2 separate regions of the Homo sapiens genome follow, and region 2 is linked to region 1. Evidence: promoter capture Hi-C in 16 types of primary human blood cells and fetal thymus (Javierre and others, 2016). All regions are on one chromosome and are shown on one strand. Each heading gives the region's core, a stretch centred on a gene start or on the middle of the fragment in contact. The rest is flanking DNA. Distances are from core to core; before and after follow the strand shown.

Region 1 (6,280 bases), core at 2,284-4,783:
GCCAAGACAAGCAGGATAGGTCCTCTTCTAACAGTTCCCCAGCAGCAGGCACTGTATGCAAAGTCCAGTTTCCATCCCTTAGTTACTTTCAACCTCGCTCCTTTTTTTTATTCCTCTAATAAATAAGAAACAAGGTCGGGTGCGGTGGCTCACGCCTGTAATCCCAGCACTTTGGGAGTCCAAGGTGGGTGAATCACAAGGTCAGGTGTTCGAGACCAGCCTGGTCAACACGGTGAAACCCCGTCTCTACTAAAAATACAAAAATTAGCCAGGCGTGGTGGCGTATGCCTGTAATCCCAGCTACTTGGGAGGCTGAGGCAGGAGAATTGCTTGAACCTGGGAATGGAGGTTGCAGTGAGCCAAGATGGTGCCACTGCACTCCAGCCTGGGCAACAGAGCAAGACTCCATCTCGGGAAAAAAAAAAAAGAAAAAGAAACAAGAGCAGACTCCAGTAATTGGCCACAGGTATAATGGAAGGTTTTGGAATTTCAGCTTACTGATCTTCCTCTTCATCCTACTTTAAAACTTTCACTAAGCATCATTAAGCTTAATGGCTTACAAAACAAGTGTGTCTATGCCAAGGCACACAGCGCTCAACGCCACAAAGGCAAGGACATACATTTTATGCAAGCTGTACCAACATCACAGGACTGAGGTTTCAGGGGACCTTTTCACCTCTCTTTCGATTACAGAAGTATTCTAGAATATCAGGGGCCAATTTGAAGACAGGAAGACTCTTGGAGATAGAAGTTTCACATTCCAAAAATGGGGAGGAGATATCAAGAGCCAATACAGCAGGGAAACGTCAATCTGACAGAGGAGGGGTCAGTTCAGGGAAAATCCAAGTGTGATGATCTAGAGCCCACTGGTGAAGTTTTATCACGGCAGAGAATGGCGGTTCTGATCCCTAGCTGTGTGAATGTGAACCAAAGCTCTTACGGAAGCCCTGGCAGCGGGATGGACTGATTTCAGAGATGAAAGGAAGCAAACAACCACCTCGCCGAGTAAGAGCTAACATTGCTGAGTGCTTACTATCTGCTAGGCACACTGACAAACTGAGAACCAGAAATTAAATAACATGCTCAAAGTCACACAGCTAGTAAGTGGCAGAGCTAAGTTACAAACCTAGGCATTCAGTGTAGCTCCAGAGGCCTTACTCTCAACTGCTGTACTATGCTGCCTCTGCACAGAAGATGAAGACGACTTCAAGAATGAGCAATGCTAGAGACATAAAGGGGAGAGGAAGTACTGTTAAATGCTAATTTCCTTCTACCTTGGGTACAAGCGGGATTCATAGGGCATTTGGTAGAACACCTAAAAGGTGTCTGCGTCCCTAACAGGACAGAGAAAAGCTGCAGGAAGCAGGAAAAGAGCAGAAGATAGAGTCGGACAGGCCAAAATGAATAAGTGAACTGCCAAGTGCACAGAAAGCAGTATCTCAGTCAGGGTCAAACACCACCTCGGAAGCTGGCCCTACTCAATAACAACCCAGGAGATACCATCGAGGCTTGGGACCCACGGAAAGTATCTAAAGCTCCGAGAGACAGAGAAAAGAAGTGTGGGAAGTAGGGCTACAAGGAGCACTTTAGGTGGCTCCAGGACTCACAGCAACTCCCTCGCCCCAAATTTCAAGAAAACGAGACCCAGAGTTAGGTAGCCAACTAGAAAAGCCTTTCTTATGTCACCAGAGTCCGAGCCTGGGTCTTCCCACCTCCGATACAGTGTCTCCATCTACCTTTCCCGTTCTCCTGGCTGAGAGGCTGCAACCCCCAGCAACCACCAGGGCCTGGTACATTCAGTAGGCACTAAAGACGCGTTTATTTAATGACTGAGCGAATGAGTGAATGAATTAAAAGTACTAGGGAAGGCGTCTGCTTCTCTGCACGCTGCGGTGAGGGTCAGCGAGTGAACATAGTGAGTCCCTAGGCGGGCACAATATGAGGTCCCCAATGTGCCTGTGCCGGTTCCAAGAAGCACACGTCTTTACAGCCCGCAAATCTCAGAGCAGCCCCAGCTTCCAAGTCTAGCTGCCGACCGCGTAACCACGGCCGACCTGCACTCGTTTCACGCAAGTCCCGATCATGCGGGGCTAAAAAAGAGGTCCCCGACGTGGGTTCGCGGGCCCGAAGCACCCTGGGACTTGTAGTCCCCAACCGGCCAGCCCAGAGACTCCTCTAAAGCCCCACGCAGCCCTCGCCAACGGCTCCAGCGCCGTGCTCGGGCCGAGCCAGGCCGCGGCTGGCTGGGGTCGCCCCTAAGCTGGGGATCTGGGCGAGGACAGAGGCGGCAAGCAAAAGAGGGTCCTACAGAGCAAGCCCAGGCCGAGCGGCGCCGGCCACCGGCCAGATGGCAGCTGATGGCGACGGATGCGCGAGACGCCACTCACCATCATTTTGGAAGCTTATTCAGCGGCCCGCCACTCTCCCCTCTTCTCCGAGACCGGGCCGCCCAGCAACCCACAATGCCTCGCGCAATAGAAATACCCAGAAGCTTGGGCCGGGAGAGGAAGAGAACGGACCACTTCCGCTACTCTATGGTTCGTTACCACCGACTCGGTGCGGCTAGAAGGACCTGAGGCTGGGCTTCGGGGACTCTCTAGTGAGGGGCGTTCATTAAAGAGGGGTCGCCGCATTTCGGTCGTGCTTCTTAGAGCACGGAGGGTCTTTGCTCGGCCCGCATCACCTACTAACTTAATTCCACCCTCCTCCATCCCCGGACGCCAGACCAAGGAATGCAATAAAGGCAAAAGTGTGGGACGCAAAGTGTGGGATAGGCTGGTGCCAAAGCACTTTACGTGAGCGATCTCATTTAATCCTCACAACCCTATTGCGTTGGTCCTATTAAGGCCATTTTACTGATGACAGAAAGGAGGCTGAGAGGTCAAGGTGTCCAGTGTCACAGTTACATAGTCAGTGTCAACGGGACGAGCGTGGGAAGCTGCCCCCAATGCCCGTTTTCTGGCTTTGCACTGGCCAGAGGCTCCTCGTGGATGGCGTGCGCCAGGCCGCGGCCCCAGCGCCTATCCACGGTGAGCGCGCAAGCGTTGGTGGCACTGGGCGGAAGACCCCCTGGCGCAAGACGAGTGCCTTCCCGTGAAGGCGTGGGGAGGAGGGAAGCGCAGCTGGGAGGAGGGAAGCGCAGCTGGGAGAAGGCTAATCGTCGTCAATCGAGGCGGCCTTGGAGTGGACAGGACCGAGACCGCAAGGGTTAACGGCCTCGACTATCGACAGCTGAAGCAAGTCCGGCTACGGGCACACCTCCAGTGCTTGTCCTCCCTGGCCCGCCCACCGCCAGCGAGGACCCGGAGAGTATGCTGGGGCGGGGCTGAGGCGAAGGCCGGTTGTAGCTGTTAAGAGTTTAAGCCAATCAGCCCCCGGCTCCACTTCTCTCGACCAATAGGAAGTAGGCTAAGGCGCAGAGGCGGAAAGTGTGGCTACATGAGCAGGCGTCAGAGCCAATCAGCCTTGAGCCTCGTTCCCGTCGTCCAGCCCGCGGCGAGAGCGGGTATGTGGGCGGGAGGCCGGAGCAGCTGTCAGGCTGAAGTCCTGCGAGCGACGCGCGGCGGGGCGGCGAGAGGAAACGCGGCGCCGGGCCGGGCCCGGCCCTGGAGATGGTCCCCGGCGCCGCGGGCTGGTGTTGTCTCGTGCTCTGGCTCCCCGCGTGCGTCGCGGCCCACGGTGAGCGGCAACGGGTGGGACTGCGTTGCAGGGCGGGGCTGGCCGTCCAGCTTGCGCGCGTCTCGGGTTGGGGGCCAAGGGTCACCTTGGGGACCCTGCGAGTTCAGAGCAGGACAGGTCTGGGAGCGGGCGGCCGGAATAAGTGGGTGGTGGTCCAAGGACATAAAGTGGGCGCAGCCTGAGGCTGAAGCTCTGACTCCTCACCTTCCCACGACAAAGCAGATCTCCCCACTCGCCCCTCCCCGCCCACTAGCGCCGACCCAGGTGACTTAGGGTGCGACCAGAAGGGACAGCTAAGGAAGGATACTACAGGCTGGAGATATGTATGTGAGCATTCACATGTACACAGGAGCACACATTCCTACACGTGGGCACACACGCACAAACCGTTTACACCTACACAAGCACATAAATGTATACATCTATGCACATAAGTGAGCACATACGTATACCCACAACTTACACAAATAAGCACACACAAAGGCAAGCAAGGGTTGGGGAGGAGGGAGTGAGTTTGACGCTAGTCCAGGAAGGCTTTCTGGGGGTGTATTTGTATCCGAGAGGGAGTCCCCACTCCCAGGACTGTATAGCCCAGTGCCAAGCCATGGGAGCTCTAACTGATGGCTGTGATTTGGGCAGTAAACAAAGACAGCTAAAGCCTTAATGCCATCCTTGGTACACAGTAGTGACTTGGTAGTTTGTTGATAGACTAACAGACTTGTGACAGCAGTTTTCTTTTTTTCTTTTTTTTTTTTTTGAGACGGAGTCTTGCTCTGTCGCCCAGGTTGCAGTGCAGTGGCCCGATCTCGGCTCACTGCAAGCTCCGCCTCCCGGGTTCACGCCATTCTCCTGCCTCAGCCTCCCAAGTAGCTGGGACTACAGGCGCCCACCACCACGCCCGGCTAATTTTTTTGTATTTTTAGTAGAGACGGGGGTTTCACCGTGTTAGCCAGGATGGTCTCGATCTCCTGACCTCGTGATCTGCCCGCCTCGGCCTCCCAAAGTGCTGGGATTACAGGCGTGAGCCACCGCGCCCGCCCATGACAGCAGTTTTTATCTTTCAACATTCCGCAGTCTCTCTGGGTTAAGGAAACCAGGGACTCAAGTCCAGGTACAACATTAAACTTTGGTGCTGAGGAGAAGATCCCATGCCCCAGAAAAATCTAGTGGTCTGGAAATTCTCTTCATCGGTGCTGTGGAGCTAGATATAGTTGTTCACCCATTCAGGAAAGTTTATAGGGCTATCCCTATATTGTAGCCACTGTGCAAGACACTGGTGACTCTTCACTGAATGAAGTTACAAAGTGGAAGAGGCAGATATTTAAAAATTATGAATCCAGGGCAGGTGCGGTGGCTCACGCCTGTAATCCCAGGACTTTGGTAAGCCAAGGTGGGAGGATCACAAGCCCTGGCAACAAGGCGAGACCCCATTCCTATTTAAAAAATGAAAAAAAAAAATCAGCCTGGTCAACATGGCGAAACCCTCTCTACTAAAAAATACAAAAAAAAATTAGCCAGGCATGGTGGCGCACGCCTGTAGTCCCAGCTATTTGGGAGGCTGAGGCATGAGAATCGCTTGAGCCTGGGAGGTGGAGGTTGCTGTGAGGCGAGATGGCGCCACTGCACTCCAGCCTGGGTGATAAAGTGAGACCCTGTCTCAAAAAAAAGAAAAAGAGGCCGGGCGCGGTGGCTCACGCCTGTAATCCCAGCACTTTGGAAGGCCCAGGCGGGTGGATCACGAGGTCAGGAGATAGAGACCATCCTGGCTAACACGGTGAAACCCCGTCTCTACTAAAAATACAAAAAATTCTCCGGGCGTGGTGGCGGGCGCCTGTAGTCCCAGCTACTCCGGAGGCTGAGGCAGGAGAATGGCGTGAACCCGGGAGGCGGAGCTTGCAGCGAGCCTAGATCGCAACACTGCACTCCAGCCTGGGTGACAGAGCGAGACTCCGTCTCAAAAAAAGAAAAAAAGAAAAGTTATGAAAGCTGTATAATTACAAATTATGTTGAAAGTCCCCATTTATTAAAAAGTACATTTGAATGGGTATGGGAGGGCAATCATGAGGCAGAAGCTTTCTCTGAGGAAGTGACATTTAAGGTGTGACCTGAAGGATGACTAGGAAAGAGTCAGGTAAAGGGGTGGAAGTAGGGTGGCGTGGGAGTAGGGGGCCTTCCAGGCTCAGGGAACAGCCTGCAGAAAGACCCAGAGAAGTGAAGACACTGAAAGGCCAGTGTAGCTTGAACACAGGATGGAGGAGATGAGGTTGGAAGAGTGGCCAGGGGCCACAGCAAACAGGGTCTTGTAGGCCACAGTTTAAAAAGAGTTTAAATTTTAAATGCAAAGGGCAGTTATTGAAACCCTAGGTATGGTGATGTGCTCATAATTGCTAAGATGTTTTCGATTTCTGGTTGTTGCTTGGGGAGCAAGAATGGAGGCAGGGAGGCCAGGTAAGAAGCTGAGCTGTCAGGACAAGAGATGATAGTGACTAGACTTAAGGGGATGGCAGTGGGACCAGAAAGTCAACTTTTAAATTTTAGTGAGAATTGCTTTGTACGCAGGCCACTACATCTCTACCCTGAAACTCCCAGGTCTTCAGAGCAA
Region 2 (6,280 bases), core at 1,453-3,952, about 57 Mb before region 1:
GGAGGTGAGTGCAGACCCTGATGGCACTGGGCCTGCCTAATAATAATGATACCGAAATAGTGACCCAGGGCACCTTCTCTGTGCCACTCTCTGTGCTAAGGGCATGTAATCATCACAGGTTCCTACGACGTGGGTACTATTATTGACGTCCCCATTGTGCAGGCGGGAAAGTTTATGCACCACGTGGTTCAGCGACTTGTGGAAGGTCCCAACCAGGAAGTCACACGGTGAGGGTTGAACTCAGACCCTCTCGGCACCCACCCCCTGCACACTCAATCTGTGACATTGTCTTGTAAGCAATAACTGTAATGAAATATATTATGGGCTATGTAGCTAAACATATAAGACAATGTACAATGAATGCATAGGCATTATAATGGATAACATATTATGTACAAGATACTATAGGCACTGTGTTACTGGGAGATTATAATAATAATTAGTGAATCGTGTATTACCATCATCGTCAGGTATTCGTAATCTCAATGATAATAAGTAACACCCATGCCACCACTGTGTGCCAGCCACTATTCTAAGTGCTTTACTTGTGTCCATTGGGTCATTTAAGCCCTCATGATGCCCTTGTGTAGTGGGAACACCTAGAAGAGCGCAGTGATTCCTGCACATGCGGGAGGCAGGCTTGGGGAGCAGGGGTGCCCTCGCCACCCAGCCTTCCGCATGTGAGGCCCTCCGCACTGTACACGGTTCAGAACCCACCCAGTCGCATGATGTCATATATCACATGGGTATTATGTTTACATTTGTTACACACATTCTTATATTGTATAATTATATATTTTACATTTATTATGCATTTCTTAGTTTCTTATATACAATGTTTCTACATGTGTGTAAATTACTTAGGTTTATAATTATCTGTTACTTTTTTTTTTTTTTTTTTTGAGATGGAGTCTCGCTCTGTTGCCCAGGCTGGACTGCAGTGGCGCGATCTCGGCTCACTGCAAGCTCCGCCTCCCGGGTTCACGCCATTCTCCTGCCTCAGCCACCCGAGTAGCTGGGACTACAGGCGCCCGCCACCACGCCCAGCTAATTTTTTGTGTGTTTAGTAGAGACGGGGTTTCACCGTGTTAGCCAGGATGGTGTGGATCTCCTGACCTCGTGATCCGCCCGCCTCGGCCTCCCAAAGTGCTGGGATTATAGGCGTGAGCCACCGTGCCCGGCCATCTGTTACATATTTTATATCTACTTATGAATTTATCAAATAACTTTGGTCATTTTATAAATTATAATCTTTGTTATATTCATTTGTTGTATTGTTTTATGCAGTTATGCAATGTTTATTGTATAAACGGTCATTTATAATACTTTTATATATTTGTCATATTTCTAAACTTGATACATGTCACCATATATCAGTTTATGCGTTTGTATGGTATGTTTCTATGTCTGGTACATAAGCGATTACACTTTAAACACGTCATCAACTGTAATGTACAGTGCCTAGCATTCTGCGTGAGCCTTCCTAATGCTGGGCTTGCACTACCTGTATTGTAACGTTTAGATTTTTTGTTTGGTTTTGTTTTGTTTGAGATGGGATCTCACTCTGTGGCCCAGGCTGGAGTGCAGTGGCACCATCTCAGCTGTGCAGTGGAACCATCTCAGCTCACTGCAACCTCTGCCTCCCAGGTTCAAGCGAGTCCCCTGTCTCTGCTCCCTAGTAGCTGGGATTACAGGCATGCGCCCATGCCCAGTTGATTTTTGTATTTTTAGTAGAGACGGGGTTTCGCTGTGTTGCCCAGGCTGGTCTCGAACTCCTGAGCTCAAGCGATCCTCCCACCTCGGCCTCCCAAAGTGCTGGGATTACAGGTGTGAGCCACCGCACCTGGCCCACGTTTAGAATCTTTATAGGCAGTGACGAACGCCCCTACGAAGTGTGCGCCCAATATGTACTAAGTGCTTTTCACCCACATCATTTAATCCTTAGACCAGTTTGGTCATTCATGTCCCCATTTCACCAAGGGAGAAGCCGAGGTCAGAGGGGCCAGGTAGACCGCCTGGACCACACGCGGATGGCCGGGACGCGGATTCGGGACGGGAAGCGGATTCGGGCCCGGACGCGGATTCGAGCCCGGCGTTCACACCCTCACCACGCCACAGCCTCCGTGTTCCTCTTCGCCCTGCTGCAGCCCCTTCCTTCCTGTGGTCACAGGGGACAGTCAGGTCGCCAGAAGCGGCGGGGCCGGGGCTGTCCAGCGCAGCAGGGCCGCCCGCCCTCCCCTGCGGCGCCCGCCCCACCTGTCCCGCCCGCAGCCAGGTTGTTCCGGGAGCGCGACGAGGACACCGGGAACGAGGGTGTGCACGGTCCGTCCCGGCCTGGCCGTGGACGTCGCGCTCCGGGGCCGGGGGGCAGAGAGTGAAGACGGAGACAGCAAGAGCGACAGAGAAGTGCTGGGGAGAGAAACACGGAGAGACCCCCCGAGGCGGGGAGACACCGGGGACACCGAGACAGAAAGGCAGAGCCCGCCGTGCGCGGAGGACAGGCGTACGCAGGGCCAGGGCCGGGGCGCGCCGCTCGCGGACCCCGTGTGCCACTCACGCTGAACTCGCCGGCGAGGACTGCCCCCTCCCGGCCGCCCCGCGCTTCCAGCCGCTCCAGGAAGCTCCGCGCCGAGTCCAGGCTGCGGCTCATGGCGCCGCGGGCCAGCAAGGTCCAGCCCGGCCGCCGCGCGCGCGGCGAGTGTGGACGCCGCGGGAGGCGGAGGCCGGTGACTGAGTCCCCGCCCTTGCCTCGGCAGCCAATGGAAGCGCGCAGCGGCGGGCAGGGCGCCCCAGCCACCGTGTTCTGAGCCCGCGTAGCCCCACCCCGGGCGCTCGGGCCGCTGTGGCCGGAGCCCTAGGTCCTCGCGGGCTGCCCTGAGCAGAGTCCAGCGCCGGCGCTTCCCCTTTTTTTCGGCTGCCGCGCCCACTGGTGGGGGGGTGGCACGGTCCCAGGTTCGCTCCCTGCCGCTTGGGACCCGCCCTCAGATCGGGATCCGCGCCCAGGGGCCGACCTCCGGGTGCCGGCTCTGGGTGGACGGCCGAGCGGTCTCGCCGGGCCCTCCCGCCCGTCCCCTGGGAGCCAGGCCGCGCGGAGTCCGAGCTGGGGCGGGCAGCAGCCTTGGGTGGAGACGGTCGCCGAGATCAGGCTGCCCCTCGTGCCAGAGGACCCCGGGTCGGGGGCGTCCCGCGCTGTGCGCTCCAGCCGGGCCCAAGGGAGGCCGGGGAGGGGCAGCCACGCCGTGGGAAAGGCCAAGTGGCAGCGGGATCTTCTCTGTGTATTTCCCGAGGAATTTGTGGTTCCTTTTTCCCGGATGCGCTGGGGCACCAGGGTCAGTCCTGTGTGAGCATCTCGACCTGCACAAGCCTGCTGGGAAACAGAACTGAGGCACTGGAAGTGGGTTCTGGGGAACGAAGAGCTTCTCTTTTTTGCCTGCCCTGACACTCCCATCTTCAGAAAGTGTGCAGAGGTCAGAGGAGAGCCGCCGTTCCAGCTTCCGGGATCACCGAGGGGAGGCTGGAGAGAATGGACTGGCACCTGGGTCTCTTCAAGGACAGGCCTAGGTTAGCCCCCTTCTCGCCGAGGTCGGAAGAATTAAGAGGGGTGTCACTGGAAGGGGCGTCAGTGGACACCAGTTTGAGGTCGTTGAGGGGTTGAAAGGTAGCATTGGGGCCTGGATGTGTGCCTGAGTCTCTGAAGGGTCAACAGGGGCATGATGTCAGGTGGTCAATTTAATTCACTAGGGGCTATCAGAGTATTTAAGGGCACACTTTCTTAAAGGTCCCGGTAGGAAGTGGTTTTGGCTTTGCTATCGCTGCCCCAGCTGCTTAACTCAGCTGTGGCAGCATGAAAGCAGACAATATAGTGTGGCTGTGTCCCAAAGAAACCATTTATGGACAAAGAAATCAGAATTTCATGTAATGTTCATGTGTCATGAATTATTCTAGTGTGTGTGTGTGGCCTACAGGCTGTCGTTTGCTGACCTTGGCTGAAGTGATGGAGCGATCAAAGTGGCTCTGTGGGGATCAGCAGCTAGGGCTGTTTGATTTATCGTGGGGTCCGCAGGGGTCACTGTGAGATTCATGTTCATCATTTATCAGTTTCATCTTTGAGCATTCTCAGGGAGGTAATTGTTTAGGATGGTGGTGATAGGGAATTCATTGGAAGCCAGTCGGGGTCCCTTGGATGTTCATGGGGGGGGGGGTGTCAGTAGATATTAATGACAGTCATTGGGAGGCCAGTGGATACTTGGGACAAGAAGTGAAAGTAATTGTGGGGCCATTGGGATTTGGAGTGTTAGTAATTGAAGGGTCCGAAGAGTCTGGGAAGTCATTGAGAGCTCTGCTCAGTGCATGATAGTGACTCTCAGTATAATCATTGAGGGTTTGTGGATGGCCATGGAGATCCAGGGAGGTAGAATACAGAAGCATCAGTAAGCTTTCAGAAAATAAAGACATTTTCTGGGAAAATGTGAGCCCCTGAGCACACATGGTTATTCAGGGCAGTCTTTATGGGCTAGAGGATCTCTGTCCAGCAGCAGGGATCCTGTTGAGGGCCTGTCCTCATAGGCTGAGGTCTGTCTGACTGGTGGAGGGCATGTCGTCCAGCTGAAGGTCTGGTTGACTAGGTGGGTGGGGTGTTCTCTCCTCTGGGGTAATGTCTCTGTCCATTTTGGGGAGGGCACCTGTCCTTGAGGGATTCTGACCTTTGCCTGGCTGGGGGGCCCAGGTGTCTCTCTGGCCACAGGCCTATTTGGATGTCTGGCTGAGGGTCTACCCATCTGTCAGTAATCTGTCTGTTTGTCCAGCTGGGTGTTTCCCTGGGATTCTGTCCATCTGGAAGTCTGTCCAGCCAGGGTGTGTGTGTGTGTGTGTGTGTGTGTGTGTGTTTGGTGGTTTGTCTATTAGAGGATCTGAGTGACTAGCCAGATGCTGCCTTGTGGCCTGTGAACATTAAGTGGCTGAGGCTGTAGTCTGCCATTTGTACTTCCAGCTGCCTTGAGTGTCTTTCTGTCCTCGTGTTCACCCTCACTCCAAGCCCCACCTTGTTGTTTAACCCACCTGTCCTCCTGACACCTGACCGTTCCTCATGTCTCTCCAAACATCCAAACTCTTAGCTTGCCCTCTGTTCAGCTCAGGCTAGGTGTGGGGGATGGGAAGACCCCACATCTTCCAGAGGCCCTGGCCCACCCCGGCTTTTCTCTCCCGGAGGACTGCCAGCTGTGTTCTTGCAATGAGACTCACTGCTGCTGGTGGCCCTCCTGTTCACGCTGCCAGCAGCAGTCTTGCACAGTGGGAGCTGCTGGCACTGCTACAGAGACCCCAAGTGTACCAAAGCCCACGTGCCATGTGCCAGTCTGTCACCTGCCCACCAGTCAGTGTGGCTACATGGGCCGCTCAACAGAGCCAAGAGGACAAGGTAGAGGAAGATGCACAGGGACAGGTGCACAAGGCTGTGAGTTCAGCCTGCTCTGAGCCTGCAAAGGGGAAAAGAGAAACTACAGTGGAGACCCCTGGCAGACACCCCTTCCTCTGGGATGCTTGCGGGGAGCTCCTTGGAGACTGCTGGCATCTCCAGGGTACAGTTCTTCTCCAGCTTCCTTTTTTGCTTAGTTAAAAAAGGGCAGAGACCATCCTGGCTAACACAGTGAAACCCCGTTCTCTATTAAAAGTACAAAAAATTAGCCGGGCGTGGTGGCGGGCACCTGTAGTCCCAGCTGCTCGGGAGGCTGAGGCAGGAGAATGGCTTGAACCCGGGAGGCGGAGCTTGCAGTGAGCCGAGATTGTGCCACTGCACTCCAGCCTGGGCGACAGAGCAAGACTCCGCCTCAAAAAAAAAAAATCAATAAATAAAAATAAAAAAAGGGCAGAAGACTGGAACCAAAATGTTTGAGTTAGAATTCTGGCACCATGACTTTCTCAGTATGACCTTGGGCAAGTCATTTAATTTCTATGTCTCAATTTCCTCCTCTGTAGGACTGTGTCTCTTCTTGTTGCTTTATTGTGAGAATTTAAGGAAATCATTGTATATAAAGCATTTAGATAGAACAGCACTTGGCTTGCAGTATACACTTGGTACTATTAATATTATTATTACACTGCTAGTTTCCCTTTCTGATATTGCCACGCCCACCTCCTTACTCCCTCCTCTAAGTTAAAACAAAAGTGGAAGGGGGGGCATAAATTTGAAAACATTTTCCCATTGCTTCATTCTGTTAAAAACCTTCAAGCTGGGCAAGTTGTCCTGTTGGTCCATCCACAAGTCTGGCATTTAGCAAACAGG

Evidence for each region. Contacts are between HindIII fragments. The CHiCAGO score rates a contact against its expected background, and 5 or more counts as called.
Region 2: a contact is called between the fragment with the promoter of PTPN18 here and the fragment with the promoter of PRADC1 in region 1, in 1 of 17 cell types (total B cells). The highest score is 6.6, in total B cells.

The regions. Positions count from the first base shown.
Region 1 is chr2:73,230,492-73,236,771 of GRCh38, reverse strand. PRADC1 (protease associated domain containing 1) reads left to right here and starts at 3,533. Exons shown (of 5, transcript NM_032319.3): 1 at 3,533-3,678. The coding sequence starts at 3,612. It overlaps CCT7 (chaperonin containing TCP1 subunit 7), which reads right to left and starts at 2,464. Exons shown (of 12, transcript NM_006429.4): 1 at 2,388-2,464. The coding sequence starts at 2,393. RefSeq lists enhancers at 2,577-2,646, 2,767-2,816, 2,458-2,989 and a silencer at 3,277-3,486. The HindIII fragment of the contact is 3,259 bases long and covers 2,494-5,752 here.
Region 2 is chr2:130,352,478-130,358,757 of GRCh38, reverse strand. It overlaps PTPN18 (protein tyrosine phosphatase non-receptor type 18), which reads right to left and starts at 2,702. Exons shown (of 15, transcript NM_014369.4): 1 at 2,558-2,702. The coding sequence starts at 2,650. RefSeq lists silencers at 2,263-2,312, 2,453-3,122. The HindIII fragment of the contact is 15,291 bases long and covers 1-4,437 here.